Linked DNA regions of Homo sapiens: region 1 is linked to region 2. Evidence: promoter capture Hi-C in human tissues and cell types (Jung and others, 2019). All regions are on one chromosome and are shown on one strand. Each heading gives the region's core, a stretch centred on a gene start or on the middle of the fragment in contact. The rest is flanking DNA. Distances are from core to core; before and after follow the strand shown. Region 1 overlaps NKTR (natural killer cell triggering receptor). Region 2 holds the start of ZBTB47 (zinc finger and BTB domain containing 47).

Region 1 (6,567 bases), core at 2,001-4,500, 39 kb before region 2:
TAGTTCTACTTGTGAATACCTGTTTAAGTATGCTTAAACCCTTGGCTGGGCATGGTGGCCTGTAATCCCAGCACTCTGGGAGGTCGAGGCGGGCAAATCACAAGGTTAGGAGTTCAAGACAAGCCTGGCCAACATGGTGAAACCCCATCTCTACTAAAAATACAAAAAATTAGCTGGGCATAGTGGTAGGTGTCTATAATCCTAGCTACTCGGGAGGCTGAGGCAGGAGAATTGCTTGAACCCAGGAGGCGGAGATTGCAGTGAGCCAAGATCGTGCCACTGCACTCCAGCCTGGGTGACAGAGTGAGACTCTGTCTCAAAAAAAAAAAAAAAAATGTATGCCTAAACCCTTATTTCCTCTCTGCTTCAGAAAAGTCTACCTATTGATTCCCACTATGAAGTATGAGGATGCGTATTTTCTTTCACCAGTCCAAATCCTTGTTGGTTTTTATTGATTCTCCACTGCCTTCCTCCAACTGAAATTATTTTTACCCTGGGCAACATAGTGAGACCTTGTCTCAACAAAAAATACAAAAATTAGCCAAGCATGGTGGCATGCTCCTATGTTCCCATCTATTCAGGAGGCTGAGGCAGGAGGATTGCTTGAGCCCAAGAGGTTGAGGATGCAGTGAGCAGAGGTTGTGCCGTTGCACTACAACCTGGGGAACAGAGCGAGACTCTGTCTCTTAAAAAATAAAATACATTATTTTTATATCACAGGCATGAGAAAAGTTCATGATATGTTAGTAGAGCAAGGTGCAGTACAGTGTGCATAATCTACCATTTTTTAAAGGAAGAAAAATAAGAATTTATCAATATTTGCTTGTGTATGAAAAGAAACTGGAAAAATACACAGAAAATTAATGAAAGTGAGTACCTGTTGATAGGGTTGGGAAACAAGGCTTCTCATCCTGTACCTTTTTCCACTGATTTTTGAGTCATGAGAACATTTCCTATTCAAAAGAAAGAACATTTTCAGATGGTACATAAAAAAAATTTTGCCATTACATAACTTTGTTTCCTAATACTGATAACATTTAAAACCATAATTAACACTGTTTGCATTGTCATACCTGGCAGCTCTAACATCCGGCCTCATTTCCTTTTATTTTAAAACCATAATTATAGTGATTTAGGTTTAATTTTGTAATGTAATATATTCAGTGCCCAATGCCACTCTTCCTACTAGTTCTCATTCATTAATTTTTTGACTTATATCTCAGGGATATGTATTCAAATAGATATTTCAGGATAAAATGTATTTCCTTTGCTAGGTATAGAATTCTTGTTTCACAGCCTATTCCTTAAAAATGGTAGACTGTGCTCAGTTGTCTCCAGTTTGTAATATAAGGTGTCTGAAGCTGGTCTTCTTTCTTTTTTCTTTGTGAACGATATGATTCTACTGCCTGGATACTAGGAGGCTTTTTTTTCCATTTATGTCTCCAAAACTAAATAGCTTTATTAATTGATATCTTGGTGTTGCTCCACTTACATATTTTTTCCTGGTATGTAGTGAATAATTTTAATCTGTATATTTGGGTGTTCCTTCATTTATGAAAGTATTTTGTAAATCTGTCTTTGAATAATTTTGTTTTGAGTATTATTATTATTAAATATTTATTGAGCACCTAACTGTACCAGGCACTACGTAAGTCTCTGGGGATATAGTGGTAAGTAAAGCAGTCATGGTCCCTATCTCTCTGCGGTCACACACAACAGTCAGACCTAGGTTATATATAAGTGCCCTTAGTTCATACTAATGATAGCTCATATTGTGTAGCAGCTGCATTTCCATGTGTCATTCCTAGCCAAGATGTGAGCTTCTTGAAACTTAGGCACTACGTTCTTCTTGAAACTCAGGCACAACAGTATATAGTACTGTTGGATTCCCTGACATATGGGTAAGATCTCAGTAAATAATATTTGAGTAAATGGCCCGATGTTATGCTGCTCCTGTTTCTTAATCTTCTTCCTAGATTTTGCTCTTGGCCTACCTAGTGTGATCTGTTCTTAACCTTTGCTCTTTTCCTCACCCCTTGCTTGTAATTAATTGTTCTATGGGCTATTCTTTGCCTTCTGTAGTTTATCAACCTCTGCAACATTTTTCTAATTGATGCTCACTTTTCCAACTACCATATCATCTATGTACATAATACATGTCTCCTTTTTAAACCATTGAATCTGCAATTCCAGCGCAACTATTTCTGAAAACAAGGAACAGTATTGAAAGATGATGTTTGATTTTATTCCATCTGTGTACTTGGTGATTTTATTCCTTTCACCTAGTGGCCAAATCAGAATCTACACCATGACATAGACTTTTCCTGTCTGTAGTCAAAGCTTAACATGTGTTGATATTACCTGATTAATCTTAATATTGTTCCCCTGTCTTATTTTTAAGGATCTGCATGTTGGTATTTTCGGATTAAATTTAGAAACTAGTCCTGCTTTGTGTCATTTTTGTCCTTAGCCATGTATAAAAGCAACATACTAATGTTTACACTAACAGTAGATTTTAGTCTTATTATAGAGCTGTGTATCTATTGGCATAACATTAATTCTGTGGACGAAAACTATGTATAAGAATATTATCAATAGTATTGACTGATTCTTGAACTCCTGGTTTCAAGTGATCCTCCAGCCTCTGCCTCCCAAAGCACTGGTATTACAGTGCCCAGCCGGTATCAACTGATTCTAAAAGATTACTAAATTCCACTAAATTATAAATAGTATTTGTTGAGTAACAAATTTTTCTTAGATATTATTTATTTAGTCAGCAGCAGTTTCCAAAGAGGCATCATCAGCAGGTGTTCTTAACTCTTTACAGAGATGGGGTTACTGTCACACTTATTTTTCTCATCAGTTTGGGAGCCAGAGAGACTTACGCAAATTCATTCCAAGTCTGTCCTTTATTGTAACTACAGCTTAATTTTTTTATCTTCAATATGTTTTGTAATCATAGTTTATGCTTGCCATCACCGAAAATATTTACTAACTAAACTAGTGAACCACATTGACTTTTTTTTTTTTTTAAAGACCATACCTTTAGAATATTGTCTATTTTGAGTTTCAGAATAGAAGTATCATCACATGGTAGCCTGTTTTCTATAAAATCATACAATTCAATAAAAAATATTTGTTGAAAACCTGTTAATCTTGCTAATGAGCTTCAGTTCAAGTTAGTATTTGCTGATCTGTATCCTGTAGTGTTCAATCTCAGGATTTAATTTGAAGGGAATTAATACTAGGTTACCTCTTTATAGGTATAAATCATAATGCTGTTTTGTTTTTTTGACCTTGGTTTTTGTTTTTAAACCCTTCAAATTGCATATATACTAGCATTTTAACTTAAGAAAGTCTCAACTAATGTCTGAATATCCATAGTTCAGCCTTTGCCATGCTTTGCAAACCTAATTAGGTTAATGTGTTTTTTTCAGGATTTTAAAATTATTTTTCTTATGTGCCAGGTTTAATCTTGCACCTTGTTATTGAGGCAAAAACAATTCAGTTTTGTTGTATTTTTCCTCTTGCTCTTAACAACATAATGCCATAGAGGAGATAAAACCTCTACTCTATCCTTTGTGCCATGAGGTTCGGAGGGCAAAAGACTTTTTTTTTTGCTCCAGGCTAGAAGAGGGTAAGATATTAGAGGTGAGATTTGTTTTTTCTTTTTTTTTTTTTTAAGATGGAATCTTACTGTGTCGCGCAGGCTGGAGTGCAGTGATGCAACCTCAGCTCACTGCAACCTCCACCTCCCAGGTTCAAGCGATTCTTTTGCCTCAGCCTCCCGAGTAGCTAGGATTACAGGCGCCTGCCACCACACCTGGCTAATTTTTGTATTTTTAGTAGAGATGGGGTTTCATCATGTTGGCCAGGCTGATCTTGAACTCCTGACCTCAGGTGATCTGCCTGCCTTGGCCTCCCAAAGTGCTGGGATTACAGGCGTGAGCCACCATGCCTGGCCGAGATTTTTTTTTTTTTTTTTAAACCACTCTAGTTAGCTATCCCTCTCCGAATATTGGATAGGAATGTAATCACATTTTAACTGTTTTCAAGTGTGTGTTGTACTACTGGAGGGTACACAATTTCCAATTATCTGTTAAGGAGAAACTAAAAACATTTGAAACTTTGAACAGCTTTCATTTTGAGGCATTACAAGATTTTGAAAAAAACAAAACAAAAAACACCCTAATGTTGAAGTTACTGTGGCCCTAAGAAAAGCCCTATGTTTTGATTATTTCGATTATGTCTTCTATCCTGAAAAGTAGCCATCTTACAGGGATTGCAAAGATCTAAGTCTGTTCTGGTATGCAAAGCGGGATGATTTTGAACTTGACACCAGCTAAGCCATTTCCCAGAGATTTATGAGGACTGATCAAAATACATTTATTATACTGGTAAAATGTTTCTATATAAATACAGTGATAGTTACTATTACTGATATTATAGGGTTTTTTTTTAATTCTGAAATGACTTTAGATACACTGCTCCCTGCTTGAAAATCTTGAGTCCTCCTTTTTGCTTGCTTTCCGTCTTTTTCTTCATTCCCTTAGGTTTTAAGAACAGCTACAAAGTTTTGAAATTGCTTTATAGTTTGGCTCTTTTAAAGCTATAGGCTAAGAATGTTGACACAGGAAGGTCTTCCATCCTGCTTTACCCATTAACGATGTCTATAATGCAGTATCATTGTTTCCTCCTCACAGGAACTGACCGATATGGCCAGGAATACAATACAGTCTTAGTGATACAGAGTCATTTTGTGTCTGTTCTGAACATGATTTATGCTTGGTCCACAGTTAATTTTTATTTATTCTGTAAGTCCTTTTGAATAAATAAAAAGGTTTACAATGGAAAAGATCTTGTAGAATAAAGGGGAAAGGAACTGAAGAGTAATTAATTGCAAATCAGAATTACGTTTCTTATTTTATTGATACGCTTTCAACAGGTCCATAAAGTCACAATTATTTTTATAGTAATAGATTATGATTTGCCTTTTGTGCTCTCATTCTCTTGTGAATATACAGTCAGGTTTTCCAGAGATCATATATTAATATGTGATGATATCACTGCCCTGACACCTAATGGAATGTGTGCTTGTGTATTCTTGTGTTTTAAACATTTCTGAGTTTTAACATTTAATATGGTATATAGCAATAGATATGAACTACATAAACAAAAGCTCAGTAATGAGTTTAAAAGAGCCCTGAGACCAGAGTTTGAGAACCATTTTTCTCTGGCATAGTTAAATTGAAGTTGCTGACTTTTCCTTGTAATCTCGTGTTTGTTGTAGGGAAGCATAACCTCTTCTCTTTCTGCTCTCTCAGGGGATAGGATGGGGAGTATTATTTTAAGAGTCTTGCTCTGTCACCTAGGCTAGAGTGCAGTGGCACAATCAAAGCTCACTGCATGATCATAGCTCATTGCAGCCTTGAAATCCTGGGCTCAAGTGAACCTCCTACGTCAGCCTCCCCAATAACTACAGGCATGTGCCACCATCCCCCGCTAATTTTTAAAATTTTTTGTAGAGACAGGGGTCGTTCTGTGTTGCCCAGGCTGGTCTCAAACTCCTGACCTCAGGCAACCCTCCCTGCCTCAGCCTCCCAAAGTGCTGGGATTATAGGTGTGAGCCACCATGCCCAGCTTAAAATGTGAATTTTAAGTGTGATTGGTGCAATTCAGGAAGGTGGCTCTTAACAGTTCTTGCTTAAAGGAAGAAAGCTGAAAATAAAGAGACAGAGATGTTTCTTAACAATACTGGCCAGAATTACTGTCTTTTGATGTACTCTCATCACTGGAAGGGCCCAAGCATAAATCAAACAACTATTGAGAGTATTTTTAAAGAAGATTTATAGTTCAGATAGGGAACTATACTACGAGGAATCTAATAATACAAAGTTCCTTTAAAACACACTTAAAATCCTATAATTTTGGGGCTGGAACCAATTTGGCTGCATGTAAATTTTAACAATAACAAATAAAATGGTGTTCTTGTTCATAGGTATCACCCAGTTAAATGCTTTCCCATTACATCTTTTAAAAAATTAAAATGAATTACAAAAATAGACTTTCTAATTTGTTAGCCCTGTTTCTTTCTCCCATTTAAATGTGATATATTTAACTTGCTTACTATTTTTTTCCTATGTATTTTATTTCAGTTGGTCGCATTATGTTTCAGCTCTTCTCAGACATATGTCCAAAAACATGCAAAAACTTCCTTTGCTTGTGCTCAGGTAAGTGAATTATTATTTCCAATGAGAAGCTGTGGCTTACAGTTTTACCTTGCTGAACAGAATAGATATTTTCCTGGAAGAATAATGGACTCGTGAAATTAGTTTTGTGAATTAAAAAAAAAAAAGAGTTACTTATACTGACTTTTATATGAAATCAGGGAAGCATTTCTTAAGGGGAAGAGATTAGAAAGGAATGATCTCAAAAATGAAAAAGAGAGTAAGAATCTACGTTATATAATGGAATCTTCTCTATACATTTTAATTTATAAAATAATAGCACACATTCAAAACTGATTTGGTAGAATTTTATGAATTTCACTACTTTGAAAAAATTTAG
Region 2 (6,779 bases), core at 1,983-4,482:
ACTATTAAGACAAGAACAGAACAAAAAGCAGCTGGGCATGCTGATGCACACCTGTAGTCCCAGCTACTCAGAGGGCTGAGGTGGGAGGATCACTTGAGCCTAGGAGGTGGAGACTACAGTGAGCCATGATTGCATCTCTGCCCAGCTTGGGCAACAAAGCAAGACCCTGTCTGAGAAACAACAAATGGAGTGACCTGAGGTCTCAGGACAAACACCTGCATTCTGCATCTTGAGCCCTGATCCTGGGCCTCCTATGGCTCATAAACCCCTGAAAGAGGGTATACATGACTGGCACACTCAGACATGAGAGACAACCAGGGGTGCTCATCCCTTCCCAGCCTGCAGACGAGTCTGCCTCCCAGTGGACCTGGCCCACAGGGGTTGGGTGTATAGGCTGGCACTTCACCAGCCTCTGGTCACCTAGGACCTCTAGCAACTAAAATCTCCCATCAGGCCAGGTTCCCAGAGAAAGCCTAAGAAGAGTCCCCACTGACCTCAATGCCTCCAGCCTAATTTGGTTTTATTTTGAAGAAGCAGGGGGACTTCTATGAGCAACTATGCTATGGTACAATCGTTAAGGTCTCTGGGCCAGAACCAGGCTGCTTGGGTTCAAGTTCAACTCTGCCACTTCCCAGTTGGGTAACTGGAAGGAGGACAATTTGCTTGACCTCTATAATTCAGCTCATCTGAAAAATGGATGCTAGGGATTCCTCCTCCTAGAACTGTGGTGTATTAAACGTTTAGAAAACCAAGCATACATCAGTGGTTCAGAGGTGGTGGCCCCTGAGGTGGTGACTCTAGGAGAAGTGAAGGAGTCCCAGAGGGTTCATGTGTGGAGCCAGGTTCACTCACTAGGGAGAGGCCCAAGGCCCCCAGAACCAACAGGGCAGGAGAGGATCCTAGAAGCTGCAAGAGAGACGTGAAATGCCAAAGCCATGATGTTTATGCTGTGAGGGAACCAGGCAACCTACCGGTTTGCATGAGGCCCCCAACCCAGGGCAGCTGTAGCCTATTAGTGCTGGGTTCAGTGGAGGCAGAATTCAGGTGTAAACTCCACCCTTAACCCACCCCACACCCTGGGGATTCATGTTTTCCCGCCCTACTAGAACTTTGGGCTTCGGATCAGCGCCTAGTGGGTAGCTTTGAACTTCCCTGCCAGCCCACTGGCCACATGCTGTGCGAGTTGAGTTGCATTGCCTGTATTTTTCTGGCATTGCCCACTCTGCTCTCCCTCTTCCCCAGGCTCAGCTACACACAGCTCCATGCCCTCCGGGCTGACTCAGTCCTGCATTGTTCCCACACACATACGCATACCCACAACCTGGGCTGTTCTTTCTAACTTCAGTGGGGTTGAATCTGGTTTCCCCAACTAAGCCTGGGGACACTCCAGCACTGAGGGTAGATACTTAGGGAAATTGAGAGAAAACCCATGAGCTGTCTTCTAGAGGCAGGGGCATAGCTTTGCTGACCTTGTCAGGACCCAATCCCAAATATGTGAAGGATCACTAAGCTCTGCCCTTGCTGGGTGAGCGTCTCCAGACTCCTGACTCACCCCTGGGGCATGCATTTCTGGCCCAGGAGTCAACTCCCCAATAACTCAGTCCCTCCCTCCAGAAAGCCTGCCTTGACCTCCCTGAAGTGAAGCTCCTACTGCATGCCCCTCATCAGGACCAAGAGAGAAATTCTGCCTCTGCCTAGCTCCACCTGTTCACTCCCACCAACCAGACAACTCCTGATCGATAGGAATCTTGACTCCACTACACCAAATCCCCTCTAGTTCCCTGCAGATGCTAAATTGTCTCCACCTCCTGGCCTTTGCAGGCTTTCTGTCTGGAAAGCCCTTTCACTCCCTCATTGCTCTAGTTAATGTTCAAGTTCAAGCCTCAGCTCTGAGCAGCCCTGTGGGCCCACCAGACAGCTCTTCAAACCACTCCTTCCTGCCAGGTCCAGTGTTGCCAGGTGCCCACAGCTGCTCACAGAGCTCAGGCTCTGCCCTGGGACTCCCCAGCTGATGAGCTGCAGGCCAGAGAAGCAAGAGGGGAACAGCCGAGGCCTTCAGGGAGACTGAGTGCCTCCCCACCACCTGTCCCCTCCCTTCTCACCCAACCTCCAGCCCTTTCTGCAGCTTGACTGCTGGAGCTAAGGCCCCAGCAAGGCCCCATAGGGCCAGCATCACTACCTCAGTCACGCTGGCCACACCCTCTGTCAAGCTTTGGCTTGGCAGTGGGCCTAGCAATGTCCCATGCAGCTCTCTCTGCCAGGCTTCTTCCAGCCCGTGGAGGGGTCCCTTCTCCCCACCTCCCCTTCCCCTGGCTCCTGATGCTGATGCCTAAGTGATTTGTCCCGCTCTGAGCCTCAGAGTCCTTATCCAACCAATGGGCACACAGCCCCTCCCTAACTAACTCCTGGGCCGGTGCTAGGATCCACTGTGAGTCAGATGAGGAAGTGGGCTGGGGAGGAAGAGGCAGAAGGCAGCCCTCAGCGGGCTAGCTGGTCAGAAGCATGTAAGCTGCTCTGGCCTGGCCTTAACCTGGGGCCTCTGGGAGCTGGGCCAGCTGTCTGTGCACCCATGCAGGTACAGGATGTCTGCAGCAGCTGCCAGGGGCTTCCAGATGCCCCAGGTTTGGCCCCTGAGACATTTTCTCCCTAGCTCTGGGATAGCCTTATCCTGAGGCCCTACGTATTCTGGCAGAGAGTGGGGGTGGGGGAGGAGGCCCTTGCAATCTTACAGGACAGACCATCAGGCTGTTTCACAGCACCTGCCTAATACCCTGGTCTCTCCTCCATTTCTCCTCTGGCACCTAGAACCAAGTCACCCTGAGCCAGCGCCAGAGTTCCTGCCCACTCGTGAGTAGGACAACATACCCAGGAGATACTGCTGCAGCTGGACATGGACTTGTATGTAAACACAAGCGCACATATGTGGGGAGGGGTGTGGAATATCAGGATGGGGGCAACATGAGAGTGACCCAGGATGGGCAGTAGTGAGCTTGGGGTAGGAGGAGGGGATGTCCACAGAGGCCTCTCCTCTACAATGGTGGCCCAGTCACCATCCAGACCTTGCCAGGTCTAGTGCCCCGTGGTCCCCACCCTGCTGCCTGCTCAGCCTGGCAGCCTTCCTTTACAGCCTCCTGCCAACAGAGCCAGCCCCCTGCCCCCACGGGTGTCCATGCCAGAGCAGCATTCCGCAAGCCTGGCTGCATCTCCCCAGCAGAGGCTGAGCAAGGGGGCCACTCAGCAGTGGTCAGGTCACACGGCTAGAGGGGCACAGTGGGGCCTGGGCCTCTGGTCCCTACTCCTCTGGTCCCTCTGTCTCCTGGCCCTGGGCCAGTCACCTTAGATGATTTGATCGCTGCGGTTGTAGTCCTGGGATTTAAATCTCCTGCCCTGGGTGGCCCTATGCAGCATGAGGCCGCCAGGTAGGTATGGGTCCACTGGAGCCAAGTCCTGGAGGCACAGAGCAAAATGAGCCCTGCGCCGCCCTGGGATAGGGATGGGGGACTGGACCAGTTGGGGACCCCAGACTCACCCCCAGGTCAGAGCAGCCCAGGCGAGAGGGTGGGGGTGGTGAGCGCGGCTGGGGTGCGGGGTTCAGTCCCTCAGCGTGGGATCCCTCAGGGGAGCGGGTGGAAGCCTTTTCTGTTCGGATCCGGGGCCCGGCGCGCTCAGCTTCCTGATTTCACGGCAGCTTCCTATCCTGGCTCCCCCTCCGTGGCGCAACCGGAGGGCAGCGATGTTTGACTCCCGGACGAACTTCCCGGCAGAAAGGAGGCTCAGCACGGGAGGGTGGGGCCGGGGTCTATCTGCTCGGATATGAGCAGTGGGGACGGGCTGGGGGCTGGAGCTGGGGCTGGGGGTGGAGGGCAGCCTGCGGCAGGGCGGGCTGCACGGGGACCGCGCACACCACGCGTGTCCGCGCCCCCCGCCGGCACGCAGGCGGCCTGGCCCTTTAAGCGTCCAGACGGCGGCCCCAGCTGACGCGCGGGCTCCAATCGGCGCCCCGCGCCCCCCGCCCGCCGCGCCCGAGGCTCTGGGGCCGCAGCTGCTTGGCGCTGGACTCGCCGCGGCCCTGCGCCTCCGCCTGCCTGGCCGCGCCCCCGGGGGCCATGGTCGCGGGGCCCTGCGCGGGGGCGGCCCCCAGCGCGGCGCTTCATGGAGCGGCCCTGGCCTGGCCGCCGGGGGCAGCGCGATCCCGCGGGGCCCTGTGAGCCCCCAGCGCCACGGCACCATGGTACGCAGGGCCCTGCCTGTCCCCCCGCTTATCCGCCCACCTGCCAGCTCTGACCTCCCAGGCACACGGCCCGCGGGCCCGGGTGGAGGGGCTGGAGGGATCTTCCCCCCTCCCCCGGTCTCCCGGCTCCATCTGCTGGGTCCCGCGGGCCGGGAATGCGGCGCTGTGGCGCTGCTCTCGGTGGGGAGGGGGTTAAATTCCTGTGGTGGGGGCGCCGGCGCGCGAGGCTGAGGTCTTGCTAGGCACCGGCGAAGGGGGGCGCTCCCCTGCGCCCGGACGGCGCCGCCCTCGGGCTGGGTAATGGGGGGAAGAGGGAGTCGGATTCCCGCCTGGGCCTTGGGCCACGTGGGCGCTGGAGCCGCCCTGCCTGGGGATTCGGGATGACCCGGGCCAAGGGGGTGTGGGAGGACACCCAGAGCTCCCGTACCAACTCCTGTGTGACCTTGGGCAGATCCCCCGCCCTCTCTGGGTCTATTTCCAAGGGAAAGAGGGGAGGTAAGTGCACAGAGGAGGCTGGCATGGACACTCCCTCACCAAAAGGAGGAGCCTAGAGGTCATGAGCCTGTGCCCCCTTGCTCAGTCTGGGCCCCCCCACTGCTGCCCAGCATAGAAAGAATTGACATGGGAGGGGGGCGCAGATGGACTCCCCAGGTTTCATCATGGGGCCTTCCAGGGAGGCTCTGAGGCAGGGTAGAGAGATGAGGCTTCTCATCAGTGAGGCAAGGTACCCCTCAGGTGTAGAAGGCTCTGACTTGGGTGAGCAGCCTGGAGAGATGTCTGGCACCTGGCCAATCCCCAGCCTGACTTGGGGCAAGGGTTTGAGGGCATGAAACCCCCTGGCAACCAGAGTGCCTGACCACCTCCCTGGTCCTGCATCTTAGCTAGGCTGGAGTGACCTGGACTGCAGCTGGCACAGCCGGATGGGGAGGGGCACGCATTGCTTCCGGGAACCAGCACATCTGGCTGTGGAGGCCAGCACAGCTGGTGGGCATTGTGTGGGAGGGGCCAGACATGGGGGTGGCTGAACCCTGCTGAGGGGCTGCCAATTGTGGACTCGGGCAGCATCTCTGTGCCCAGTCAAGAGAGTCCAATCAGGTCATGAGGTTTAGGGCCCCCCAAGGGCCAAGGATGGTGCTGCCTTGGCTGAGAGTACTACCTTAGCAATGGAGTGTTTGAGAAAGCACTCCCCTCCTTTCCTGCTGAGAGGCCAGAGGGCCAAAGTCAGGCCTCATTTGGCCTAGAGGCCAAAGTGCACATGGGAAGGTTGCCCTTTCCCTGTGGCAGGTGGGCACAGGTGGGCAGTGGAGGGCATTCCATAAAGGGAGAGCAGAGAGATCTGGGGCTCTGTTGCCTGGGGTGGACTTCCCCCAACAGGCCTGGCTTCAGCAAACCCTTATCCAAGCCACTTCTCCTGCCAGTCTTTGGCCCCTGGAGGCCCTAAGGAGCCCCTGTTGCAACCCAAGTTGTACCCTGATCCTTCACTGACCTGCAGGTGCAGTGGCTCTAGGGAGGAGGGAGCAGGTAGAGGGGATAGTGGTGAGTGTGGGGAAGCACGGCTGGTCTCCAGGTGGCGGGATGTTCTCGCTTTTTAAGTCATTAAAGGCTCAGAAATCCAGCCATGTGGGGTCTAGCAAGGAAGGGGTGGTCTTAGCGGAGCTGGGAGTCCAGGGGCTCTGGACTGTGGAACCCTCTCATTCTGAGCCTCGGTTTCTCCATCTGTGTAGTAGGGGTTGGTCCCAGAAGATGAATCAGAATGAGTCAGAGGAGGGAGATGGGAGGGGCTTGGTGCCACGTCCCAGTTAGATTGGCCAGGCCTGGACAGCCTGGGACAGAGGGAGATGGATGGCTTCTTGGCTGGGGTAAGGGGTGTAGTGGAGAACTCAAGGAAGATGGTAGCCTTGGCCAGGGGCCTGGCCAGACTGGGATGTGAGGGAACACAGGATGGCTGCTGCCCTGGCTGCTGGGTGTAGGGGGCAGGGTCCAGGGCAGGCCTGGAGACAGGTGGCCCCTGGTGGCTCAGGGAGGCTCCTGCTGAGGCCCACGGTAGGTTTCTCATTCAGGTGACTGAGAAGTGGAGCTCAACCACCACCACCCCTGCCCAATCCCAGCCTACCCACTGCTCTCCTGGCGATGGAAGGCCTGGCATGGGGAAGGGGGGCGGTAGGCTGTGGATGGATGGGGCCAGGATTCATCCCAGGGTCCCCAGGGAGGCACTGACAGCTATGGAGCTGATGGTTTTGTGGCCATCAAAATATTGTGGCAAGGTACCTCCCGAATGCAGGAGGCTCAGACCTGGTTGGGCAGGCCCTGAGGAGAGCCAGAACTTGGAACCAGTGGTGCTGGTCCAGCTGGGCTGGTGGTTGGTGGATATTAACAACATCTGCACATCACTGTGTGATGGTTCTCGTGCAGGGACTGGGCAGGCTGCCTGTCTGTGCTGCCCACCTTTTGGGGAGGCTGCTGTGGTAGAGCCGGGGTGACTGAGTTGGCTTCTATTCCAGGCAATTCACAGGTGCTGGATGTGGCCCACAGGCCTGATAGTCTGACC

The links. The method cuts DNA at HindIII sites, captures the fragments that hold promoters and counts their contacts. A contact is called where the count stands out against the background at its distance.
Region 1: a contact is called between a fragment that was not itself captured here and the fragment with the promoter of ZBTB47 in region 2, in 2 of the 25 tissues and cell types used here (H1 embryonic stem cells and neural progenitor cells).

The regions. Positions count from the first base shown.
Region 1 is chr3:42,611,415-42,617,981 of GRCh38, forward strand. NKTR (natural killer cell triggering receptor) reads left to right here. Exons shown (of 17, transcript NM_005385.4): 3 at 6,156-6,230. It overlaps ZBTB47-AS1 (ZBTB47 and NKTR antisense RNA 1), which reads right to left. Exons shown (of 3, transcript NR_125400.1): 3 at 896-953. Among named protein-coding and RNA genes, the nearest start is that of NKTR, 14 kb to the left of the region's middle. The HindIII fragment of the contact is 7,266 bases long and covers 1-6,567 here.
Region 2 is chr3:42,650,465-42,657,243 of GRCh38, forward strand. It overlaps ZBTB47 (zinc finger and BTB domain containing 47), which reads left to right and starts at 3,233. Exons shown (of 6, transcript NM_145166.4): 1 at 3,233-3,419. ZBTB47-AS1 (ZBTB47 and NKTR antisense RNA 1) reads right to left here and starts at 3,924. Exons shown (of 3, transcript NR_125400.1): 1 at 3,530-3,924. RefSeq lists enhancers at 3,207-3,848, 5,913-6,207 and silencers at 3,854-4,213, 4,254-4,333. The HindIII fragment of the contact is 7,927 bases long and covers 894-6,779 here.